2 separate regions of the Homo sapiens genome follow, and region 2 is linked to region 1. Evidence: promoter capture Hi-C in 16 types of primary human blood cells and fetal thymus (Javierre and others, 2016). All regions are on one chromosome and are shown on one strand. Each heading gives the region's core, a stretch centred on a gene start or on the middle of the fragment in contact. The rest is flanking DNA. Distances are from core to core; before and after follow the strand shown.

Region 1 (6,190 bases), core at 2,420-4,919:
CTGCTCAGTTTTTGAGCCAAGTATTCCTTGACCTGGACTTTAGATGTGACTGCTCATGAAACGTGTATGCCTCTCCAATGGGCAGTGGCACAGGTCTCCTACTAAACCACTGTTTTAGCATCTCTGCAGGGTGATAGTCTATGCTCTGGGCACCCAAACATGCTTCCCTCTGGGAAGCAGTCTCAGTTGCCCCGAAGAAGGCATGCTTTTTGCTGTTGTTGTTGCTAATCAGCCTTCAAGTAGTTAGGCATTTTTTATGGCTTTTTAAATTTTCTCAAAATTATATATTTTTAGCTCCTGCTCATGTGGCATTAAAAACTGTCCTCAGTGTGGCATCTGCCTGGTATGATAATTTCTTGAGTGTACCCAAAGGAAAAAAAATTAAAATAGTTTGAAAAAGGTGGAATCCACCTCTAAATCCAGGCAAAATTCAAATCAGGTAGGTTTTGAATTCCACTCTTTAGAACCTTTAGTCATGTGCCATTTTCCTGTGACTCTCAAAAAAACAAATACAAGGGAGACTGAGCAGTCACTGATAAACACGGATAACTGCTGCCACTTACTGTGCAGCCTGCAAAATGGAGTTGCCCGTGTAAGCAGCAGCCCAGTTACAGATCAGCCAATATGGAGTGGCTGCTTAGTGACTTTTGCTTTGGACTCATGTTTCAAAACAGTCTTTCTATTCATAGCATATACTTGTCATTCACAAAGTTTCCAACTGGCACCATGTTAGGCCTCCTGTTATTCTTGTTTTGGCTGCTGTGGAGAATGATTCTCTATAAGTGTCTCTTACTTATGCCTTTCAGAGCGTATTTCTTTATTTTAAGGCAGATAATCCCAAGTTACCCTTTAACTGTGAAAATTCACTCAGCCTGTCTCCAGAAACGTGGAATATCAGAGAAACAGAAACTTAAATTTGTTTAGCATAGATTATAGCCAAGTCCATATAACAGCCAATGTATTAATTCATAAGCTTTCATTTTTTTTACCCTGCAACCCAAATAATTTTCAATTTAATCATTTTAGCCCCAAGGAAAATGTAAATGACTCAGAATCCTTTTTCTCTCTATGGTTTTGAATATCACTTTCTTCATTTTACACACCCTCCACCTCTAGAGTTAAGATTTATTCCATCCCACAATTATCCTCAAGACATTCTGTGTGTACTATGCAGAACACATCTTTAGTCCTGGGCTAACACAATTTGCCATGAACTGAAAATATTTATATACTGTCCTAGTCTGAATAACTAGGGTTTCTTGTTTGTTTGTTTGTTTGCCCTTGAAAACCACCCATCGTTATTATTTAGCATACTTGGTCAGATAACAATGAATCAAAAACAGGGTACAGTTCAGTGGTTCCTAATCTAAGTATGAATATAGTAACAGGAGTCTCTAAGCTAATTTCAAAAAGCCCAAACTATTTTATTTTTCCCCTCAGTAAGACTGTACCATTCATCATTACAGGAAAAGACCAATTTAGTGAAGCACTATTTTTCACATGTTAATCAGAGGTTCACTGGTAGTTATAGGTCTGATTTTTATCAGAAAAAAACATTCATAAATAAGGTTGAGTAGACACAATCTTTCAAAATAAAGCAGCCAGGGAGAAATCAAATTATAATAAAAACCGTTCTAGATTGTGCACTGGTTACAGGGGGAAAAAGTCTTCAAAGTTGGAAAATGGTTTCTAGTCCTGAGCAACATAATTAGGAGAAAGCCACTGCATTTGTCTGGGCCTCCATTCTTAAGCTATAAAATAAAGGTTTGATCAAATGATCTCTGAGATGTCTTACAGCTCTAAAATGCCTCTTTATGATTTTGATATTATAAGTGCCCTAAATGCCCAGAGTCACCTCACTCCTGGATGTATCACTCCATTCTCTCTAGCACTGCAATCCTGATTAGAGCCCAGTATCCAGTAGATAAGGTTTCTCTCCTCTACCTAGCAACTCAGCCAAGAGGATGTTTTCAGAGAAACTCTGTACACTTCAGGACACTGAGAAGGGGAAGGAACCCTAGTTACAACAGGAAACACTAGAACCAGAAAGGGGAAACAAAGCAAGTCACTGCTGCACATGGCATACAAACAGTGTGGCAGGCCTTGGTTTTCCACTAATCTTCACAACAACCCTTCCACTAGGAATTACTATCTATATCAGCCCCTCCCCTACCCGCCCCGCCCCCAATTTACAGATGGGATAACTGACTTGCCTAATGCATTCTGATCCATTTGTTTTACAAAAATAGCCCCATGGCTTTAGATTATGAATTTTACAGAGCAGAGTTGTAAGCGGGGACAAGGATTTGCGACTGGGGCTGAGAATGATCTTAGCCTATAATTACAGACTTGTTAAATTTGGTTAAGAATTTTTTTCTGTACTTTTTGAGTACAGAAAGCTATGCAAGATGCTATACTAAGTTGCATACATCAAAGTCAAAGTCACAGTCAGAGGTTTGAGTAATAATGTCATATTTTCTGGACAACCAGACAGCTGCTTATAATCAAAACCCAAAAGATATATTTGAGCAGCTCGATGGGTAAATGTTTTCCATCTCTATTCCAGAATTTAAATTCCATTTTCATCGTATAAGGCTGTCTTATTTCCTATATTTTGTATTTGATTAGAAATAATTCCAGAAGCCTGAACTTCGTCTGATCTAAAATTAATTTCACTTGTATACTAATTATAAGCCACAATTATTTAACAATCTGAAGATTGTAATTTACATCATAATCAGAGTCTGTGACTTAAAAATAGTTACTATTTTCAAGCATGTTAACATCAACATTAACGTAAATATCCTATTTACTTTTATGAAATGAATGTGTTCCTTTTCTCAAAAAAGGTACAGAAAGGACAACTGAATTACAGGCCTGAGAGCGAATCCAGAAAAACTACTTATTTAGCAAGATTTTGCATGTATTCAACTGTTTTAATTAAAGAGAGTGTTCGTTTACTTGAGGCCTGGAAAACATTTTCCCAGACCCAAGATCCTGCATGGAAAGACAATAAACCAAGTTAACAGTTCAAGGCTCATTTTAAGTCGATTCCGCTGTGAGAATACTTACAGGGTCCAAGATTGCAAGAGGATGGGTCTAGAAAGGTACACCGTTCCTGCTTGGCTGCACAACCCGGAATTCTGCAGGCTTTCTGGCGGCAATGCCACACTCCAATCCCAAAAGAGAGAGAAGCCCCTCCCGGGCACAGAACTAAGCGCTGCACATTCCGGCGAAGGATGTCTAGCCTGCTGGCAGTCCCATTAACTGGAGCTGTTTTCCGGAATACAGCAACTGTAAACGTGAGCCTGTTTTCCCTATCGACAGCCTCCTCAATCCCCTCTCACTTTGACCTGGGTGGGACGGAGAACCCCCTCCACATAACAGGCTGGGGAGGCCGCTGCGACGCCCCTTTCGAGGAAGGCTGAGGGCGGCCCCGCCGTCGCTTCCGCGGCCCCGGGCCGGGGGCTTTTCTAGCCTGCTCCGGGAGGCTCGGCCGAGGAGCTATGAGGCCGCCCATGCCGCCTCCCTCGGCTGCCCACAAGAGGCCCTCCCAGACTCATCATGCCGGAGCCCGAACCGGCGGGTAACCAACCCTCCATAAGCCGTACTCACCTGTCAGGAAGTGGTCGCCCAGCAGCCATCTTAGGACCCCGTCAACATCGCGCCTTCTCATTGGCTCCTGCGTCTCAACCAATGGGCTGGGGCCGTTCTGGCCCTAGGGTCGCCTTAGCAACCGGCCTCCTGGGGCTTCCCTTTTTAGTCCGCCCGAAGGAGGTGGTTCCTTTCTTTCTTTTTTTTCTCTCTTTTATCTTGCCGTTTTCTCTTTCTTCTGAACATTTTTAAAGACTTTGTTCTTTCTTCATTCCCTGCTGTAGGCCAATGCGTCTGGGCAAGGAAAGGGCTGACATAGACCTTGAACTGAGAGTTGATGCCACCAGGAGGGAGAATCTTGCAGAGTGCTTTCTTTCTAGGCCCCTCTGCAAACGTCTTCATTCATTCATCCTTTCCCCTCACTCTCTTCCTTTTTTTTAATTTTTTTTCTTTCTTCACCTATTTATTGGGCGCCTACTTTGTACCAGGCATCGTGCTAATCTCTGGTTAGCAGAAAACATGCTGACTCTTGCTCTCTTGGCGCCTACCGTCTGGTGATGGGGTCCAAGGTGCTTCACTGACTGGACCAAAAGTTTACCGAACTTCTTTTTTTCTTATTTGTGGCAGGCACTGTGTTATGCCCAGAAGGGGGTGCTTGGGGAACATAGAAAATAAGGGGAAAAAAAAGAGAGAGAAAAGCACTGCGAAGAGGATAAAATACCCTATGGATAGGGATGGGAATAGGGCTATTTTAGAAATATTTGCATTTTCCGAAATACTGTTTTATAATAAGAATAACATTAAGTGTACCTATTTGCTAATTTTGTGATGATTATATAAGAAAAGCCTGGGCAACAGAACCAGACCCTATTTCAAAAAAAGAAAAGAAAAGAAAATACAGTAGGCTTCCCTCATCTGTGGCTTCTCTTAGCCTGATTTCAGTTACCTGGGGTCAACCAAGGTCCAAACACATTAAGTAAAAAATTCCAGAAATAAGCAATTCAAATGTTTCATTGCAAGCCCATTCTGGATATCCTGATGAAATCTGCAGTGTGAATCATCGCTTTGTCCATGCATGCTGTTAGGCTACCAGGTTCTTAGTCACTTAGTAGCCATCTTGGTTATCAGATTGAAAAACTATATGTGGGGTTCGCCATTATTCCAGGATTCAGGCATCTACCGGGGAGTCTTGGAAGGTATTCCCTGCGGATAAGGGAGGCTACTGTACACATAAAGACTTTAACATGTTACCTAGCCCACGCTAATTTTCAATCTCAGCTGTTTTTTGCTGTTAACATTACCAATAATGTCTTTCTTCAAAGCAAGCTAAATGTGTATAAAATTTTGCATTGCACTCAGTAATATATCTCAATTTCACATCAACAGATGGTTAAGCCTATTAACTATCCACTAAACCACCTCACCTCCAACATCTTCCAGAAGATGCGCCAAGTTTAGAGAGCAGTTTTCTATAACCCCAGAATCATAGTAAAACCTGAATCAGCAAGTTTGGATCGCCGAGGTCCCTCTTCCTGTTCACATTCTCTGATTCTAGAGTAGAAGCAAGGCTGAATGAGTTAAGGATCTGTGTAAAACTATTTTGGCCAAATCTGTTCAGCTTCTCAGTAGGATTTTCCTTGAATCCAAATCTTTAAAAAGTTAAACAGGTAACAAGAAGGTGTGCCTGAGAGTGCTGTTGTAACTGCATTAGGCTTCTTAATTGCTCTTCATCTGGGGATAGCAAAATACTACAGACAAGGTAGCTTAGGCAACAGGAATTTATTTCTCACAGTTCTAGATGCTGGGAAGTCCAAGATCAAGATGCCAGCAAAGTAGGTTTTTTTTTTTTTTTTTTTTGAGGCCTCTTCTCTTGCGTGGTAGGCAGCCACCCTTGCCCTGTCGTGCTCCCATCACCTTTTCTTTATATGCACAGTTTGGGGAGCTCTCCAGTGTCTCTTCTCTGTACTTAAAAGGACACTAATCCTGTTGGATCAGGGTTCTACCCTTCTGACCTTATTTAACCTTAATTACTGCCTTAGAGGCCACATCTCCAAACACAGCCACACTGTGGGTTATGGCTTTAAGATAGGAATTTTAGGGGTGCACAAACATTCAGCTCATAACAATTGCTGATGGTGGAAATGTTACCAGAATGGGGAAAGAGATAGCAGAGGGGGAAGAACTGAGGCATGGGGTAGGAAGGAATTAATGTTTGTATGTTTAAGAATGATCTGGGGCTGGGCATGGTGGATCACGCCTGTAATCCCAGCACTTTGGGAGGCCGAGGCAGGTGGATCACTTGAGGTCAAGAGTTCGAGACCAGCCTGACCAACATGCTGAAACCCGCTCCCCCCTACTAAAAATACAAAAATTAGCCGGGCATGGTGGCATGTGCCTGTAATCCCAGCTACTCGGGAGGCTGAGGCACGAGAATCACTTGAACCCGGGAGGCAGAGGTTGCAGTGAGCTGAGATTGCGCCACTGCACTCCAGCCTGGGTGACAGGAGTGAAATTCCATCTCAGAAAAAAAAAAAAATCTCGATTGTTTCTATATGGATCCCATCAAAGAATGCTCATTATTTAGTGCATATATTAA
Region 2 (6,190 bases), core at 2,522-5,021, 1.0 Mb before region 1:
TTTCTATAACTCAAAAGTCTATGTTATTCCACTATATATGAAGTAATAAGCATTTTTTTGGTCCTTCTTCCAAAAAGAAAGCACTGTTATTTGTGCTTTCATTTTCTCTAGTGCCTCTTTTTGCTTCAGGAATTAGAATAAAACACACAAGCTGAATTTATATTCAAAATGAGATTAACTATTGAAATAAAAATGCTTAGGTTACAGTAATATGTCCTCTTTAGTTTGAATCCTATAAACTTAAAATCTACCTGAACAGAGTTTTCTGTTTTTATACTAAGAAAAAAGTTTACAAGAAAAACAGTAACGTTAAGTTTTTAACGGAAAGAATGTTAGGACTTAATACGAAGACAAAAAAGCAGGAATGAGTTGAGACTTACTCTTGCCTTCATACACAAATAATTCTTAAACTATGTAAACAATAACACAGTACCACAACACTGAGTAACTTTTACATGCTTGGATTTGTAAAAATGGCACAAGGAAATCTCTAGATAGTGTACTTGTTCCCAAGATGAATCTATCACTTGGGGAAAGGTGCTGGCTATATAACCTAAGCCGACAGTTACATAACTTCAGATATTAAAAAAACTATTTTTCCATGTTTTTCCCTTCAGCCTAATTATGTACTCTCTAAAAATACTGGACCTTAATTTTTGACCAGGTGATAAATAAAACAACATAAACAAGTTTATAGTGAATAGCTGGGCTATCACCTTGACCCCTGTCCATCATCATCAACCCAGTTCCTTCCCTGTATACCCCGTAAAAATTCTTATTGGTTTCTCACTTATCCTTTCAGAGATTTATTACACAGTTCCTTATTAAAATAAAGTTGGTTACAGGTACTTCACACATTCTAATGCTTTTCTTTTCATTTATCTCAACATGACCTAAAGAATGTCTGGCTATACTTTCTCAATGCCTTACATGCAGTCTTTGATTCCTGTAGCAAGGCTTTAAGTGAGCAGTACTGCAGGTAAAGCAAAAATGTGGTGAGCAAAGCTGACACCAAAGCTAGTGGTTAAATAGCTACAAGCTAACAGACATATAATCAATACCTAACCCCACCAGCAACATTAAAGCAAATGAACTAGTATTTTCTAAATACCTAGCATAGTACCTATTATATGTATTTTACTGTACACTGCAGTTCCTTTTACAAAATAGACAACATATTTAGTCTTTTTTTGATTTAAAAAAAAAGGGATTCTTTGTCTACCAGGCTTTCTAACATAATGATACACAATCCTGAGTCACCCTGGACTTAACCAAAAAAAAAAAAAAAAAAAAAAAAGGATTAAGTATATTATTAGTATACTCAAAACTAACCTAACCATTAGCAAGGACACAAATGTATTAGATATAAAATATAACCTGTGTGCTCAAGTACTTAATTGTATTATGGGTTGGAAATAAAAGTCATATGTACCAAGTAAGTGGTACAAACAAGTGTCAAAGAAATGTAGCCGGAGGATAGTATACTTGTACTTGGAATGATCAGGAGATACATTAAGAAGGTAGCTTTTGAACCAAACCAAGAAAGGTTGGCTTCATGGAGCAGAGAAGGGGGCCAAGAAAGCAGCAGCTAGTCAACACAATGGGCTTGGTGCTTTAAAATATTTAAGTAGGGAATGGCAAACTACAGCTTATGGTCTAAATTCAGTCCACTGCCTGTTTTGTATAACCTGTGGGCTATCAAGGGTTTCTATGTTTTTAAATGGTTGAAAAGTATCAAAAGAATATTTTATAACATATGAAAATTACAAAATTCATATACAAAGTTTTACTGGCACACAGCCACATTCATTCAGTTACACATTATCTGTGACTGCTTCTGTACTGCAAGGCAGAGTTGTATAGTTGCAACAGAGAGCATGTGAATCACAGCCTAAAATGTACTATCTGGCCCCTTAGAGAAACAGTCTGCCAACACCTTGCCTTGGGAAGGCCTATGTAGCTGAAGCACTATGAATGAGGGGCTGGGCGGAGGATGGTGAGACTGAAGCTGGAGAGCTAAGAGGAACCTGTGTGTCATGGTGAGGATTTGGGTCCACATCCTAAGAGTAATGGGGAAGCTGTTAAAGAGTTTTAACTAGGAGACTGACAATTAGATTTGCATTTTGAAAAGATCATGTTGGTTGTTATATTGGGGACCAGAGGACTAGGAGATATGAAGGCTAGTATAGTAAGTAGCTCAAGCAAGATATGAATATAGCTTAAACTTTGGTGCTGGCAAAGTAAAACAAGGAGGCTAGGCAAGATTATTTCTGAGATCGCTTCCAGTTCTAAAACGCTAAAAATCCACAGTGGTTCAAAGTCTAGTTTTGCAACTTTCCTGAGTGTTTCCAATTATCACAAACAATTCTCAAAACCGTTTTGATAGGTGACAAAGATTCTTTGCCAGGCCAAACTTTACTGAGGTTTCTGAATCTTCTGCTAGGCCCATCTGTCCAGTTTCAGCAAAGAACTCTGCGAAGTCAGTTTAGCAAGAAACCCCTATCCTTGATATCTGATCGTCCTTTACCATCCTCCATGATGTCTGATCACCCTGGACTGTTTTTAGCAAGAATCCTGTTAGGTCGGTTTAGCCAAAATCCCCTTTACCCTTGATGTTTCCTCTTAGTAAGTTTCCATCCACTGATCCCACATTGCTTCTTGGCTATAAATTTCCACCTGCCCATGCTGTATTCAGAGTTGAGCCCAATCTCTCACCCACTTCAAGACCTCACTGCAGTGGCTGCTATACTTATCATGATGGTCCTGAATAAAGACTTCCTTACTCTGCTTTAATAAGTATCATTGAGTAATTTTCTCTTTAACATAGGAACAGCTCCCCAGTAGGTAGAATAAGTTAAAAATAAGCCAACAGAGCACTATGCATCTAAATAGTGTCAGAATGACTACAGAGTAAATGCCTCTCCCTCCATTAAAACACTTTCTAAAATATGATTTATATTTGTTAAAGTTAGAAAGGACTACTTTTATGATATTAAATTTACAATTAAAGAATTTACAGGTAAATAATATAATTTAAATGAACACACAACACAAATACTGCTTAGGAATATTTTCACTGCACTGTTCTTCCCGTAACTTAGTAATGACAAAACAAAGAACATACCTGCTACATTCTAACAACGTAACTTTAAGACGGCCTTCAGTAAGTGCCCATTGTTGTATATGGATATGCTCTTCATCTTCTTCAAATCCTTGCAAGGTCTGGTATGGAAAAAACGGCTTAAACCTGACAAAAGTAAAGATAAGTCTAAATGTCTGAATAATAAACACCACAGTTTAAAGCATAACAAAACTCACCTGTACAAAAACACAAAGCAAAATGAACACCTAATACTACACGTGCTCTACAAAACCAAAGCTTACCACACTCCCCCATAACTGGCAGCAAATGGTGCCTTCGCTATGGCACCCATAAGTCTTGGTTTTTTGGTATGCCCCCATTGATAAGGCAAGAGAGAACAAAGAAAAGAAAAGCCTAGAGGCAGCAAGTAGGCCATGAAGTTTAGGTGGGGCAGGAGAGAGACTGTGAACCAGATGGGAAGAGTGTTCCTACGGTACAAGATCAAAATTCAGAATGCATGTTCCATGGAAATAATATACAGTCCCCTTGGCATCCATGGGGGATTGGTTCCAGTACTTCCCAAGGATACCAAAATCCCAGGATGCTCAAGTCTCTAATATAAAATGGCCCAGTATCTGCATTATACACATTCTCCCATATGTTTTGAATCATCTCCAGATTACTTATAATACCTAATACAATGTAAATGCTATGTAAATAGTTGTTAAGACTATATTGTTCAGAGAATAATGACAAGGAAAAAAGTCTGTACATGTTCAGCGCAGATTAAATTTTTAAAAAATATTTTCAATCCACAGTTGTTTGAATCCATGGATGTGGAACCCATGGATGTGGAGCCCACGAATACAGAGAGCTGACTATTACAGACAGTGATTAGTACATGATAAAGATGACTGTAATAGCAACATCAATAACAATTAACACAGCAGAGATATTCATTAGAGATGTTTACTATTTGCCAGGCAGTATGCTAAGTGCTTTTTACATGCATTATCTTATTTAATGCTCACAACCCTGAAGAGGGCAATATTATTGGCTCCTCTCTCCAGATGAAAAGAATGAAGCTTAGGAAGGTTAACAAGTTTGTTCAATTTTACAAAGTGAATGGCAAAACCAGAATTCAAGCTAGTCTAATTCCAAAGTCCAACTATATAACACCTCAGTTACCTATGAATTATCCAGGCATTCATATGCTCATCACTAATATTGTTGTTTTTATGGAGAAGTTTGTGCTGAGTTATAAACTGTAGGTTTTAAAAAACTTTTAATTTAAAACACAACTCATACTCCTCCATTAAAGCTAAAGAAAAAGAAAATGAAAGAAAATTGGGCTTAAAGCCCCGTGGTTTTCAATTCACCCTACACATTGTCACTAGCCATGATATCTACTTGCTCAGAAAGTTTTAGTGGCTTCTTACTGACCACACAAACAGATACACACACACACACACACACACACACACACACACATAGTCAAAAGTTCTTGGTTTCACATTTAAGGTCCACCACAATTAATGTTCCTTTTTTATTTTTTCTTGAGACACAGTCTTGCTCTGTTGCCCAAGCTGGAGTGCAGTGGCACGATCTTGGCTCACTGCAACCTCTGCCTCCTTGATTCAAGCTATTCTCTTGCCTCAGCCTCCCAAGTGGCTGGGATTACAGGCATGCACCACTATACCTGGATGATTTTTGTATTTTTAGCAGAGATGGGGTTTTGCCACGCTGGCCAGATCAGTCTTGAACTCCTGACCTCAAGTGATCTGCCTGCCTCGGCCTCCCACATGGCCTCCCAAAGTGCTGGGATTACAGGCCTGAGCCACCACACCCAGCCCACAATTAATCTTTCTAATCATATATTCTCTTAATATAAACATTCCAATCTAGAAAGTCACCTCATATGCCCAGAAGACACTATGAATATTCCTGCCTTCAGGCCTTTCATACCAACTGGAAGTTTTCCCAGATTCCTCAAAGCCTGTCCAAATCCTCCCCTCTTTCGCACTCGGCCATACATGCTGCTTTCACTCTTCTCTATCTTGCAGTCCTCTAAATTGCGTGCATTTATGCCTTAAAATGTCAAATATGACTTAGTCTCACAATTCTCTGCATCCATCATCCATACCTGACGGGATGTTTCACACACTATCAGGATTTGAGTATGTGTTGCGCTGATTTACAAAGAGTTAACACTAAAACTGAAATAAACACTTAGAAAATATCAATGGCCTACTATAGTTTATACTGAAAGACACTAATAGAGGGGGTTAAATGCTGTTTTATGTTTTCCCAGTAAGTAAGATTAAAGAAAAAAATTTTAAGGAAATGTTAAGTAGGGACACAGGCGATGCTCAGTGGTTTTCTCCTGTTTCTAAACTAGTATGGAAAGCAGAAAGCCCCCCGAGTTTCTCCCAACTAAAACGCTAATTTGCATTTGAAGTCATTTGATTCAGACAGACTGGCACCAAATTTTTAGAGGGAAAAAAACTAGTAACTAAATTTATATCAATATAATGTTGTAGCTGGGTGCTTTTAACACACAGTCCTTATGACTCCTGAAAAACATATAACTGTTAGTTTGTAAAAAAATTATAATAACCATATACACTAGAAACTTTGAATTTAATAATCCAAGTTAGCTAAATCACAACTGCTCTAAGAACCAGCTTTCCTTGTCAAATATAAAGTCAAAATTCAATAAAATTTCTCACAGGAGTATGAGTTGAATGTTATATGGATTAAAGTCTAATTTGGATTTACTAATGCTCAGGGGGTTTTGCTAAGAGTGTTTATGCACAAAAATAATCTAAAATCAGAACAACGTATTCCATTTTAAATGAATATACTAAACGGTGGGATAAAGCATGAACATGTTCGGCAAGCCAATAAATAGAATCCACACATTAACATTCTCTAAGAACCTTTGGTTTTCAGAATTTTTAAGTCCAAGTCTTTAAGTATCCCAAACCCATAAAGAATCCAAACAATGAAGCGGGCTACCTCTATCACTTTCTTTTATCTTCCTATTCCATCATATCATCTTTCTTCAAAATCCATTAGTCTTTATTTCCTAATTAACCTATTAACTCA

What was found. Contacts are between HindIII fragments. The CHiCAGO score rates a contact against its expected background, and 5 or more counts as called.
Region 2: a contact is called between a fragment that was not itself captured here and the fragment with the promoter of FAM204A in region 1, in 1 of 17 cell types (naive CD4 T cells). The highest score is 5.1, in naive CD4 T cells.

Annotation. Positions count from the first base shown.
Region 1 is chr10:118,338,655-118,344,844 of GRCh38, forward strand. FAM204A (family with sequence similarity 204 member A) reads right to left here and starts at 3,670. Exons shown (of 9, transcript NM_022063.3): 1 at 3,616-3,670; 2 at 3,073-3,273. RefSeq lists enhancers at 3,475-3,974, 3,611-3,830. The HindIII fragment of the contact is 7,280 bases long and covers 972-6,190 here.
Region 2 is chr10:117,337,856-117,344,045 of GRCh38, forward strand. It overlaps PDZD8 (PDZ domain containing 8), which reads right to left. Exons shown (of 5, transcript NM_173791.5): 2 at 3,125-3,247. Among named protein-coding and RNA genes, the nearest start is that of PDZD8, 34 kb to the right of the region's middle. The HindIII fragment of the contact is 788 bases long and covers 3,378-4,165 here.